Regions from separate parts of the Homo sapiens genome. Here region 1 is linked to region 2. The links are contacts of gene promoters, found by promoter capture Hi-C in blood cells and fetal thymus (Javierre and others, 2016). All regions are on one chromosome and are shown on one strand. The core of a region is centred on a gene start or on the middle of the fragment in contact, and the rest is flanking DNA. Distances in the headings are between cores, read along the strand shown.

The links. Contacts are between HindIII fragments. The CHiCAGO score rates a contact against its expected background, and 5 or more counts as called.
Region 1: a fragment that was not itself captured here is called in contact with the fragment with the promoter of TEX38 in region 2 in 4 of 17 cell types (M1 macrophages, erythroblasts, M0 macrophages and 1 more); the score reaches 6.2 in M1 macrophages.

What each region holds. Positions count from the first base shown.
Region 1 is chr1:47,304,112-47,310,409 of GRCh38, forward strand. STIL (STIL centriolar assembly protein) reads right to left here. Exons shown (of 17, transcript NM_001048166.1): 2 at 6,165-6,251; 3 at 778-885. The coding sequence starts at 6,208. Among named protein-coding and RNA genes, the nearest start is that of STIL, 6.9 kb to the right of the region's middle. RefSeq lists an enhancer at 2,394-2,959. The HindIII fragment of the contact is 1,571 bases long and covers 469-2,039 here.
Region 2 is chr1:46,668,448-46,675,441 of GRCh38, forward strand. TEX38 (testis expressed 38) reads left to right here and starts at 3,407. Exons shown (of 2, transcript NM_001145474.4): 1 at 3,407-3,524; 2 at 4,426-5,147. The coding sequence starts at 3,488. The coding sequence ends at 5,009. It overlaps EFCAB14 (EF-hand calcium binding domain 14), which reads right to left. Exons shown (of 11, transcript NM_014774.3): 11 at 6,712-6,994. EFCAB14-AS1 (EFCAB14 antisense RNA 1) reads left to right here and starts at 5,589. Exons shown (of 3, transcript NR_038828.1): 1 at 5,589-5,772. It also overlaps a transcript of ATPAF1 not described here. RefSeq lists a silencer at 1-106 and an enhancer at 217-366. The HindIII fragment of the contact is 3,767 bases long and covers 2,420-6,186 here.

The DNA of each region.
Region 1 (6,298 bases), core at 4-2,503, 630 kb after region 2:
TTTGATTCCCTAGGCAGTCTGCTCCAATTATTGCACCGTTTTTTTTTCCTTATTTTGTTTTTTTTTTTACTTTTTATTTTAATTTTTTATTGAGACAAGGTCTCACTTTGTTGCCCAGGCTGGTTTCAAACTCCTGACTTCAAGCAATCCTCCTGCCTCAACCTCCCAAAGTGCTGGGGTTACAGGTGTGAGCCACTGCACCCAGCCCAGTTATAGCACCTTAAACCATTACAATATACACCTGTGTGATTACAGAAAAGCATCTTGAAGCTAGGCTGACTCAAGGCTCTCCCCGCCATAATCTATCCTTCTTAGAATACTACTTTTAACAAGTAACTCTTATGTACAAAACCTCAATAGATCTATTTTCTATTACTTTACACCTAAACTTTCTTGTCTGTCAAGGTCCTAGATGTAACTACAAGATTTTATATTCCTTCTAATCTGATCCACTCAAAAATTGGTTCAAGCTTCTCAACGTTCCACAAAGACACCATGCTGACATAATAAAAAACACTTTCAGTTTTTACTATATTTCACCTCTTTTGAATTCCTACAATATGCAGAATTTGCAGAAAACTGGGAAGATAAGATTATCTCTCAAAAGTACAAGGAACAGATGTTAAGAAGCAGAAGGAAAATTTTGCCTGAGGGGAGATTCTAAAAGAAAAGTAAAGAAAAATGAATAATTGGTCATAGTAATCAACTTTGCCTTATACATCTTTGTATTACTCTTGTTTATACTGGCTTGATTTGAAAAAAAGAAACATGTTATACCTGTAGTAACTGAGATGTAAGTAGATGAAATCTCCAGTTGGCGTTGGGTTCCAAAGTGCACATTTTGATGGAGGAAAGTGGAAAGGTACCATCCTGCTTGAAGGAAACCTTTTGAAAAAACAATGTAAAATTAAAGCACAAGGAATAGCAAACTTGGTAGACATTTGGTAGGAAACAACTAACTATCTTTAAGGTGATGGTATTTTCAGACTACTTTTGTAATTTTCAAAGAGTTTATATATATATATTTTTTTTGAGACAAAGTCTCACTCCATCACCCAGGCTGGAGTGCAGTGGCGTGATCTCAGCTCACTGCAACCTCTGCCTCCTGGGTTCAAGCAATTCCCCTGCCTGAGCTTCCTGAGTAGCTGAGATTACAGGAGTGCACCACCACACCCGGCTACTTTTTGTATTTTTAGTAGAGACGGGGTTTCGCCATGTGGGCAAGCTGGTCTCGAACTCCTGACCTCAAGTCATCCACCTGCCTCGGCCTCCCAAAGTGCTAGGATTACAGGCATTAGCCACTGTGCCTGGCCAAAAAATACTTTTTTATTTTTTGAGACGGATTCTCACTCTGTCGCCCAGGCTGGAGTACTGTGGTGCAATCTCAGCTTACTGCAACCTCCGCCTTCCAGGTTGAAGCGATTCTCCAGCCTTAGCCTCCCAAGTAGCTGGGACTACAGGCACATACCACCATGCCTGGCTAATTTTTTGTATTTTTAGTAGAGACAGGGTTTCACTGTTAATCAGGATGGTCCTGATCTGCTGACCTCATGATCAGCCTGCCTCAGCCTCCCAAAGTGCTGGGATTACAGGCGTGAGCCACCACGCCTGGCCTTTTTTTTTTTTTTTTTTTTTTTTTCAGACGGAGTCTTACCCTGTTGCCCAGGCTGGAGTGCAATGGCGTGATCTCAGCTCACTGCAACCTCCGCCTCTGGGTTCAAGTGATCCTCCCACCTCAGCCTCCCGAGTAGCTAGGATTACAGGCGCCTGCCACCACACGCAGGTAATTTTTTGTATCTTTAGTAGAGACGGGGTTTCACCATGTTGGCCAAGCTGGTCTCAAACTCCTGACGTCATGATCTACCCGCCTCAGCCTCCCAAAGTGCTGGGATTACAGGCGTAAGCCACCGCGCCCGGCCCAAAAAATATTTTTTAAAAAAGAAAATTCACTTGTAACTCTACTACCAGGAGAATAGGCACTCAAAATTTGGCTTATTTGTCCTTTTTTATCTATGCATATGTAAATTTATGTATACACAAGCTTTTAAAAAAAGAACAAGACAATCCTACAAAATCCCTTTTAAGTAACAGAAAAATGAGTATAAATCATACATTTACATTTAAATTTAAACTAAAATCTTTCTTTTCTTTCCTTTTTTTTTTTTTTTTTTAAAGAGCAGGGCCTTGCTCTGTTGCCCAAGCTGGAATGCAGGGGCTCAATCATACCTCACTGCAGCCTTAAACTCCTGGGCTCAAGGGAGCCTCTCAAGCAGCTAAGACCACAAATGTGCACCACCACGTGAGATTTACTTTTGTAATTTTTGTAGACACAGGGTCCTGCTATGTTTCCCAGGCTGGTCTTGAACTCATGGTTTTAAGCAATCTTCCCACCTTGGCCTCCCAAAGCACTGGGATTATAGGCATGAGCCATGGCTCCTGGCCTAAAATCTGTCTTTCTGAACTGATTTCCAGATAATTGTTAGATAATACCCAACAGTTATGAAAAGCAAAAAAACTTAATAAATTCTTAATTATTTTCCAGTGTTTCCAAATTTGGTATTCTGGAATACCAAAATACAGCACAAGTTTAATTATTGAAGCGTCAAAAGGACATAATTATAAATAATTCCTCAACAAAGATGCCAGGGGCAGTGTAAAGCAAGGTTGTGATATTAAATCATATAGGGTACCATCAAAAACTTTTCATTTTACATGAGTGTATAACACGAGAAAACCACAATAAGAAAAAGACCACTAATGGGGCCAGGCCTGGTGGCTCACACCTATGTCAGCACTTTGGGAGGCCAAGGCAGGTGGATCACTTGAGGCCTGCAGTTCGAGACCAGCCTGGCCAACATGGTGAAACCCCATCTCCACTAGAAATACAAAATTAGCCAGGTGTGGTGCCACGCGCCTCTGGTCCCAGCTAGTTCAGAGGCTGAGGCACGAGAATCACTTGAACCCAGGGGGAAGAGGTTTCAGTGAGCCAAGATCACGCCACCCCACTACAGCTTGGGTGACAAGAGCAAAACTCCATCTCAAAAAACAAAAAACAAAAAATTAGCTGGACATGGTGGCACACGCCTGTAATCCCAGTTACTCAGGAGGCTGAGGCATGAGAATTGCTTGAATCAGTTGAGGTTGCAGTGAGCTGAGACCGCACCACTGCACTCCAGCCTGAGTGACAGAGTGAGACTCTGTCTTGTTGCGGGAAGTCAGGGACCCCAAATGGAGGGACCGGCCGAAGCCATGACTGAAGGACGTGGATTGTGAAGATTTTATGGACATTTATTAGTTCCCCAAATTAATACTTTTGTAATTTCTTATGCCTGTCTTTACTGCAATCTCTAAACATAAATTGTAAAGATTTCATGGACACTTATCACTTCCCCAATCAATACCCTTGTGATTTCCTATGCCTGTCTTTGCTTTAATCTCTTAATCCTGTCAGCCGAGAAGGATGTATATCGTCTCAGGACCCTGTAATAATTGCGTTAACTACACAAATTGTACAGCATGTGTGTTTGAGCAATATGAAATGTGGGCACCTGAAAAAAGAACAGGATAACAGCAATTGTTCAGGGAATAAGAGAGATAACCTTAAACTCTGACCGCCGGTGAGCCAGGCAGAACAGAGCCATATTTCTCTTCTTTCAAAAGCAAATGGGAGAAATATCACTGAATTCTTTTTCTCAGCATGGAATGTCCCTGAGAAAGAAAATGCGCACCTAGGGGTAGGTCTCTGAACTGGCCCCCCCGGGGCGTACCTGTCTCTTATGGTCGAGATTGCAGAGGTGAAATAAACTCCAGTCTCCCATAGCGCTCCCAGGCTTATTAGGAAGAGGAAATTCCCACCTAATAAATTGTAGTCAGACCGGTTGATCTGAAAACCCTGTCTCCTGATAAGATGTTATCAATGACAGTGGTGCCCAAAACCTCATTAGCAATTTTAATTTCGCCTCAGTCCTGTGGTCCTGTGATCTCGCCCTGCCTCCACTTGCCTTGTGATATTCTATTACCCTGTTAAGTACTTGATGTCTGTCACCCACACCTATTCGCACACTCCCTCCCCTTTTGAAACTCCCTAATAAAAACTTGCTGGTTTTTGTGGCTTGTGGGGCATCACGAATCCTACCAACGTGTGATGTCTCCCCCGGAAGCCCAGCTTTAAAATTTCTCTCTTTTGTACTCTGTCCTTTTATTTCTCAAGGCAGCGGACGCTTAGGAAAACAGAAAAGAACCTACGTGATTATCGGGGCAGGTCCCCCGATACTGTCTCAAAAAACAAAAAAAAAGAAAAAAGAAAAAGAAAATGGAAAAAAAAAAGAATAAATTCCTGTCATTTGCAACAACATGGTTAGAACTGGAGATCACCATGTTAAGTGAAATAAGCCAGGAGCAGAAATACAAACTTCACGTTTTCGCTTATTTGTGGGATCTAAAAATCAAAACAATGGAACTCATGGACACAGAGAGTAGAAGGATGGTTACCAGAGGCTGGGAAGAGTAGTAGGGGTTGGGTGAGAGGTAGACACAGTTAATGGGTTTAAAAAAAAAAAACCAGAAAGAATGATTAAGACCTATTATTTGATAGCACAGCAGGGTGACTATAGTCAATAACAACTTAAAAGTAATAAATAATAACATTTAAAAATAATTAGGCTGGGCACAGTGGCTCACACCTATAATCCTAGCACTTTGGGAGGCTGAGGTGGGCAGATCACTTGAGGTCAGGATTTCAAGACCAGCCTGGCCAACATGGTGAAACCCCGTCTCTACTAAAAATACAAGTTAGCTGGGCATGGTGGCGCACGCCTGTAATCCCAGCTACTCGAGTGGCTGAGACACGAGAATCACTTGAACCCAGGAAGCAAAGATTGCAGTGAGCCGAGATGGCGCCACTGCCCTCCAGCATAAGTGACAAAGTGAGACTCTGTCTCCAAAAAAAAAAAAAAATAATAATAATTAAAAGTGTACAGTTGGATTGTCTCTAACACAAAAGATAAATGCTTAAGGGGATGGATACCCTATTTCCCATATGTGATTATTACACATTGCATGCCTTATAAAAATATGTCATATACCCCATAAATACATACACCATGTACCCACAAAAATTTAAATTTTTTTAATTAAAAACAGAATACACTGAACTTGTTACACAACTGTACCCTTCTAAGAATAGAAGACAAAATTTTTCTGTCAACATGGGGTTTCCCCATGTTGCCCAGGCTGATTTTGAACTCCTGAGCTCAAGCGATCTGCCCACCTCAGCCTCCCAAAGTGCTAGGATTACAGGCATAAGCCACCTTGCCCACCGACAAATTTTCAAATAAGAGATGGCAGGGGGGTAGAACACAAGGGCCAAAATTAAAGCAAAAGGAATACGATAGCCTCCTTGGGTCATGTTTCCCACTATCTTCATCAAGAACATCTGGCACAAAGAAAGACATTACAGAGAATAAAGGCGACCCATGAATGCAATTCTGGTTTGGAAGAAAAAAAAATTCACATGTCAGCATTAACTGTCGTTCCCTAGGGGAAAAAAGAGCAATAAATGATCCAAAGAGCCAAATAATACAAGCTGATTTGCCCAGTCCCCATAGTAACAGACTGAGAAAAATGGAAGACAGGTGGCAAGCTCCTACTTCACTTGACAAAGGCTTAGGAACATCTGAGGAAACTTGGTATACCTAATGTGAAATTATTCCCATCAAGGAATCAGTATTTGTAAGAGGGAAGGAACCCAACCAATTTCCCACTTGTCTAGAAAGTAAACAAACACCGATATAATTTTTAGCCTCCTAAGTTCAGGTACTATTTCCCATCAATAAAGATCTATATTACGAAAATAATTGAAGGAGGGACGGAACTAGTATTTACTGAGTGCCTATTACATACTAGACCCTTTAGTTTAGTAATCTTATTCAACCCCACACAATAATCTTCTGTGAGACAGAGATTACCATCCTCATTTTACAGATGAAGAACTGAGGCTTAGTTAATTAACTTGATCACGGTCACCCACCTAACAAGTGGTAGAGCTAGGATATGAACCCAGAATTTCCTGATTCTAAAGATTATATTCTTTTTTCTCTTCCAACCTACCTTCCCAAGTTATGTGAAAAGCTGTAAGACAAATATTTGTAAATATACTTCTATACCTGGTATTCATCTGGGGCCGTGCAAAAGGATATATAGGCTCCATGATGTCTGGTGAATGATTTCTTTAATTCCAAATCCTCAGTATCCTAAAGAATTAAAGAGAATATTACTAATGAATGATAAAAACAAAGAA
Region 2 (6,994 bases), core at 2,157-4,656:
TTCCGGGCGCGGGATAGCGGCGAGGCGGGGCGGGGAGGAGGGGGCGCGCCGCTCTGGCCCCGGCACTGCGCGCTCTCGCCGCCCTGTGTATGCCACGGCCCGCCTCCTCCAGGGAGGCTGCCCAAATTCAACGCCCTTCCTCCCTCTGGGACCAGCAGCCTCTGCGCGCCAAGTCCGTTCTCTAAAGCCAGCGGATCTCCATGTCCTCGCGGTGCTTGCCCCTGGCACTCGCTGTAGTGCCAGGCACTCGATGTAGTAGTCCGTCCTTCAGCATCGAAGGTCTTTTCATCAACTATAATCACAGCAGCAAGCTTCTCTTTACTGAGGTTGCTATGTGCAGGACACTGAGCGGCTTCATACTCTGTGTGGCAGTATTATCCTCATCTAACAAATAAGGAAACTGAGGCCGAGAGTAATTATGTGACTTGTTCAAGTTCTACCCGACAGCTGAGCTCTTTTCAAGATGGCAGCTGCCTCCCAAGCCTCCTTTTCCTCTGCTTCCTGACATCCTCCTTGAACTCCAGCCACAGTGACCTATTCTCTCCCAAAGAAACACCAGGATTACTCCTTGAAGAGTCCTTATTCAGGCCCTTTTTGACCCCTGGAATCCTCTCTCCTTCCATTCTCTCAACCCAAATGCCACAATCTTCCTTACCGTCTGAACCAGGTGTGAGCTCCTAGGGTCAGGGACAGTGACATTAACATCTCTGTGTCCCACCTGCTCACAGAACAGGGCCAGTCCTGGAGTGGGCTCTCTGGGACAGTACTCATCATCAGGTCCTTCTTGTCTGGGTTTTGTCTGATTGAAGCCCCTCCTGGGACAGGGGCAGAGCCTTCAACTCTGCTCAATCCAACCTATGCTCATGGAGATCAGCCCTGAGCCCTGCCCTGTGCGAGGAACAGTGTAATGGAAGATGAATAAGTCCTTCAAGTATGCCAGCCCATACCTGGCTCACACTCCTAACACTTGCTGTTTTCTCTGTGGATCTGCATGTGGCTGCCTCCTCATCATCTAAGGGCTCAGTTCACATGTAAGCACCTCCAAGGGACCTAAATGACAACCCCTCCATCTCTTTATAGTCTTTATCCCATCACTCTATTGCATTCTCTTTATAGCAGTTATCATTATCTGAAGTTCTTAGATCCTTGTTTATATTAATTCATTGAGCTTACATTCTAGTGGAGTGAAACAGACAGTAAATATATAATGTTAGGTGATGCTACATGGTATGCAGAAAAACAGCAGGCCAAGAGAGATAGAGATAAGGGGACACTTGAGCAGAGACCTGAAGGTAATGTGGGAATGCTGGGGGAAGAGCCTTCCAGGTAGGGGAAACAGCAAGTGCAAAGGCCCTGATGAGGAGGTTATTGAGTCTGAATGAGTGAGGGCACAGCAGCAGAAATGAGACCAAGAAGGTATAGGGAGGGCTAGTTAGATTGCTTAGGCCTTGGTTAAGGACTTTGATTTTAAATCGAATGAGATCGGAAGTTACTATATGTTTTAAGCAGTGGAGTAACATGATCTACTTTTTAAAAGGATCATGCTGGCTGCTGGTGGGATTTAGGATATGTGGAGGCAAGGATGGAAACTCTCCCAAGGGTGACTAATTTATTCCAGTTTGCCTAGGACTTTCTTGGCTCTAGCATTGAAAGCCCCATGTCCTGAGAACCCACCCCAAGTCCTGGGCAAACCAGGATGTTGGTCACCCTACAGGGAACAGTAATCCAAGTGAGAGATGGTGGTACTTGGACTAAAGTGATAGTGATAAAAAAAAGTGGCCAGATTTTGGTTATATTTTGAAATAAAAGCCTAAAGATCTTGCTGATGGAGTCAGTGTGGGTGTGATAGAATGAAAGGAGTCAAGGATGACTTGCAGGTTTTTGGCCTGAACAACCCGAAGGACAGAGATACTACTTATGAAGAGGAGGAAGGCTGTAGGTAGGGTAGACTTTGGAGGATGGATAATCAGAGTTTGGTTTTGGACATGTTGGTTTGGGATAATTTAACAGACTGGCAAGGAGGGATGTCAACCAGGTATTTGGGTATGAGTCTAAAGTTCTGAGGAGCATTCCAGGCTGGAGAGATACAGTTGCGTACTGTCAGTGTATAGTGATATTTAAAGCCAGGGGTCTGGGTGAGATAACTGATGGAATGAATGTAGATAGAGCACTAAGAACTGAGCCCTAGACATGCCTACATTTAGAGATCAGGGGAAAAGGGAGAAACCAGCAAAGGAGACTGGAAAGTAGGGGCCAGTGATATACGAGGAGAACAAGGGTAAGTGGACCCTGGAGAGAATTCTGTGCTAAATAGTTCCCTAAGTCACACATTGGAGGACTATAAAGAGGGGAGTCATTAAAATGGTGCTAAGAAGCTGAGCTACAAGCAGTGGTGCAACATACTGGGAAGGCTGACTTAAGCTTAATTAGGGAAGGGCTTTCTAACTGAGCTGCCCATAAATGCATCAAGCTGCCTCAGGAGGTGGTGAGCAAGTTCCTGACTCAAGTGAGTCTTGAGTCCAGGGAGATTAGTTGCTGTGTGGGGAAAAATCTACCCCCAGGAGTCAAGCATGGCCCTGATGGTGGGATCAGATGGTGGAGATGAACTAGACAACTCTCAAAGTTTCTTCAAATTGGCGATGATATGATTCTGGGCAGTCTGTCACAGAGTAGGGGGGCTGAGCTGAGTCTTGAAGGATGAGCAGGTGTTCAGTGGTGGAAAAGTGGGCAGGGGCACTCCTGGGTGAAGGAGCAGCATGGGCACACCTCCAGAGATGTGAATGAGCAGGGTCTGTTCAGGAGTACGGACTAGGCAAAAGGGAAAAGTGTGTGGAGGACGAGGAGGGAAGTAAGGCTGGAAGTAGATGCAGGCCAGATGGTGGGAAGCCCCACAGGGCCTGGGGCCTGGGAAACACTTGTCAGCACTTGAAGGAAGGTAATTAAATAAAAGACAGATTGTTGGAGCCAAAGAAGGAGGTATTGACCACTTGGTTCCCTTGAGCAGGTTTCTTCCTGCCAACTTGGTTAGATACTTTTTGAGAACAGGGCTGCCCAATGCTGTGTGTTCCTTGTTACATTCCTCACTGGGGACAGGTATCCCATCAACCGTTCCCTAAAGACCAGCAACATCCGTAAGTACCTGAGGGACAATGGCCCTTTTCTGGGGTCTGCTCTGTGGGTTCACCATAAGGGGTAGGTACAGACAATTCAATAGGTGAACCAGTCTCTGATGGAAGTAGTAGTGACATTCCACCCAAAAAATGCCACTGGATGAAGTCCCCTCCTTCCATTAACCCAGGACCACTTCACAAGCACTGCCCCTAGAATGCCCAATTCTCAGAACCCAGTGACCTCTCCTTTAGAGAACAAAGGGCCTGGGCATTCTGGAGACTCTGATTGGCTGGGCAGATGGGCTGACTGGCTGGGCAGATGGGTGGGTGAGTTCCCTCTCCCCAGAGCCATCGGCCAGGTACCAAAGCTCAGCTGTATGGATTCCCAACAGGAGGACCTGCGCTTCCCTGGGAGTAAGTGCTCCTCCAGTCCCTGTCACTGGACTTGTGCCTTAGGGCTTGGGGACAAACACTCAGGGAAGGCCCTTTGCATGGATGGGACAGTGCCTGGCTGCCTGGAGGAGAGCTAAGCAGTTAGGAGATAGTCTACTCTAGAAAACTAAGAATTATTTTAAGGCAAAGACCATGCTCTGATCAACCAGAGAAGATACTATCAATAGCCCAGGACTATCACAGCTGAATGGAATGGGATGGGACATTGGTGTCTCTGTCAACTGATGAACTTTCACTTTTTTTTTTTTTTTTGAGATGAAGTTTTGCTCTGTTGCCCCGGCTGGAGTGCAGTGGCTCAATCTAGGCTCACTGTAACCTCCACCTCCTGGATTCAAGTGATTCTCCTGCCTCAGCCTCTGAAGTAGCTGGGACTGCAGGCATGCACCACCACACCTGGCTAATTTTAAAATTTTTAGTAGAGACGGGGTTTCACCATGTTGGCCAGGCTGGACTTGAAGTCCTGACCTCAAGTGATCTGCCCACCTGGGCCTCACAAAGTGCTGGTGAACTTTTGCTTCTTGATGGACTTGCCCATAGTGAAACTTCTCAGTCTGATGGATTGGATGGGTCCTGGGTTAGGAATCAGAGGCTTGACTGAGCCTGGGCAGCACATGCCCCCGCTAGACCTAGCTTTTGTGATCTGTAAAGAGTTAAAGGTGGTGCTTAAGCTCCCTGGAAATCTAGCTTTGACTGAATAAGGGAATGATGAGGCAAGTCAATAAGGGAGGGAAGGAACGGTGAGAGTAGTTAAGTGGATGGAGCGATTGATGCATGGGTTAAGTGAAAGAGGAATGAGAAACAGCTCAGGCCCCAAGCTACAGCTATCAGCCAGCATGCCTCTTTTTCTTTCTTGCTGCCTTAGTGTGGGTCTCATTGTACTTTGGAATCCTGGGGCTGTGTTCTGTGATAACTGGAGGGTGCATTATCTTTCTGCACTGGAGGAAGAACTTGAGGCGGGAAGAGCATGCCCAGCAGTGGGTGGAGGTGATGAGAGCTGCCACATTCACCTACAGCCCATTGTTGTACTGGATTAACAAGCGACGGCGCTACGGCATGAATGCAGCCATCAACACGGGCCCTGCCCCTGCTGTCACCAAGACTGAGACTGAGGTCCAGAATCCAGATGTTCTGTGGGATTTGGACATCCCCGAAGGCAGGAGCCATGCTGACCAAGACAGCAACCCCAAGGCGGAAGCCCCTGCTCCCCTGCAACCTGCACTGCAGCTGGCTCCACAGCAGCCCCAGGCCAGATCCCCATTCCCACTTCCCATCTTTCAGGAGGTGCCCTTTGCCCCACCCTTGTGCAACCTACCCCCCCTGCTGAACCACTCTGTCTCCTATCCTTTGGCCACCTGTCCTGAAAGGAATGTTCTCTTCCATTCCCTCCTGAATCTGGCCCAGGAAGACCATAGCTTCAATGCCAAGCCTTTTCCTTCAGAACTGTAGCCTCCTCTCACTGAAGGTGGGAGCTGCAGGAATCAGGTGCAGAGTAGGAAATGGAACTAACCTCAGGAAGGTGGTATTGACAGAGGTCAGGACCCACCTGGATGTCATGCTATGAAACATTAAAAGAAAAAAAAAAAAGTCCAAGGCTCCCTCGTTTCTCATTTGCTGTTAGGAAGGCAATGTCCTTCCTGTCTGATGGGGTCACTTTGCAAACCAAGTTGGTTGCTGAGTCTCACCAATATGAACTGGCACTGGTGGTTGGCTGTGGGGAGACACACTGAACCAGTACTTGTGGATGGACTCAATATCCCTCTGTTCAGTATTTAAAACAAAAATGTGTGCCAGGCCCTGGCCTAGGTACCCCAAGGCACTGGTGTTCTGTGGGATGTGAAGCACAGCTGCCACCAGAGTGATAGCTGCTGAGGGTACGTGAGCTATGTTGATTTACAGTCGCTATGTCACAGGCAAAATGAGTCATCACGAGCCCTGTGAGCCACACTGCACTATGGGCTGAAATGCATTCTTTGTTATTATCTATGATGTATGCAGCTCTTACGTGGTTGCCTCTTTACATTATTTCTAATAATTCACAAGAACACTGCCAAATGGATATCATGATCCTCCTCTTATGGATGAAGAGACAGGTTCCAAGGGCATATGCCATACCTTTCTTAGTTGCAGAGCCAGTTCTCAAATCTACATCTGCCTTGCATCAAAGTTACTGGTATGAAAGTTATTGATCATCAGTTGCTTGGCATCAAAGGTACTGATCTTCCCACCATACGCCATAGTGCCCCTTCCCTAATGATATGTCGTGTTAGAAAACACTTGGTGAATGCTTCGGATTGTATGTAGGGTGTCATTAAGTTGGTCCATGAACTGGCTTGGAGGAAGGGCTGGTCAGTGAACTGCCTAAAATTATACGTAGACATATATCCATAGTTTTTACCTTTCCTACAGGAATCCATGTCCCCCTCCCAAAAGTTAAGATCCACCACATGGGAATATTAATAATTTTTGTACTTCTGGAAATGGTTCTAAAAGGTGAGACAAAGATAATACTGCCCATTTGGCTGCAGTTTTGAGGTAAGAAAGCCCAGCTCTATCACAGGATATGTGTTTCTCCCTTTCCTTTTGGAAATGAACAAATCCTCTCATTATATTTGTAAATAACAAAAGCTTTATGTATAGTCATTTACATAATGACTGAGGGGGAAGGTCACCAGATTCTGTGTTGCGGGGAGGGGGGGAGGTATCCAGAATCTAGCAAACATGTAGAGTTATTTTTTTCTGTGTGTGAAAAAGTTTTAGCTTGTGTATGACCCCTCTTTAGCAACGGATTTTAAGCTTTTTTTTTTTTTTAAGGTGGTGGGACATTTATGGCAAACACGCTTTTATATTGACTCTCAAAAAATAAAACAGGCCTAAGTGGAGCATCTCGGGTAGACACAGGGGCAGGGCTCACTCCTGCCTCACCTCACCCCTCCCATCCTCTGGATGCAAAAAGCCTGAACCCTGCAGCCTTTGCTTCTTCAGGCCAAATATTGCAGTCCTTAAGGCAGACTCTTAATTACTTTGGGCCCACCATGTGTTACTCCTTGCTTTCAAAAGGTGTAAGGCGTCCATAAATATAGAAATCAAAGCAGATTTTTTTTTTCCCTTAAAAATCGCAGGGGAGTGAGAGAGGCTTTAGTCAGACACATTGAGAGAAAAAAGAAATTTTTTTATTTAGCTAAATTAAAATGGCTGTGTTACTTATTTGAAATATGCAAAGCTCAAATCAAGTCATGGAAACCCTGAATTCTCCCTAAACAGAACCAAAATTGCTTATACATTACCAAAATAGCTTCACTAAAACAAAGTAGATTTAAATTTCTTAATATGAGAAAACAACAAGGTAGGTTAGGTTCGTATAACAAACAATACACGCTCTATAAAGTCTCAGGAATACCCAAATGTGTTCTGGTTTGGATATGAAAGAGGGA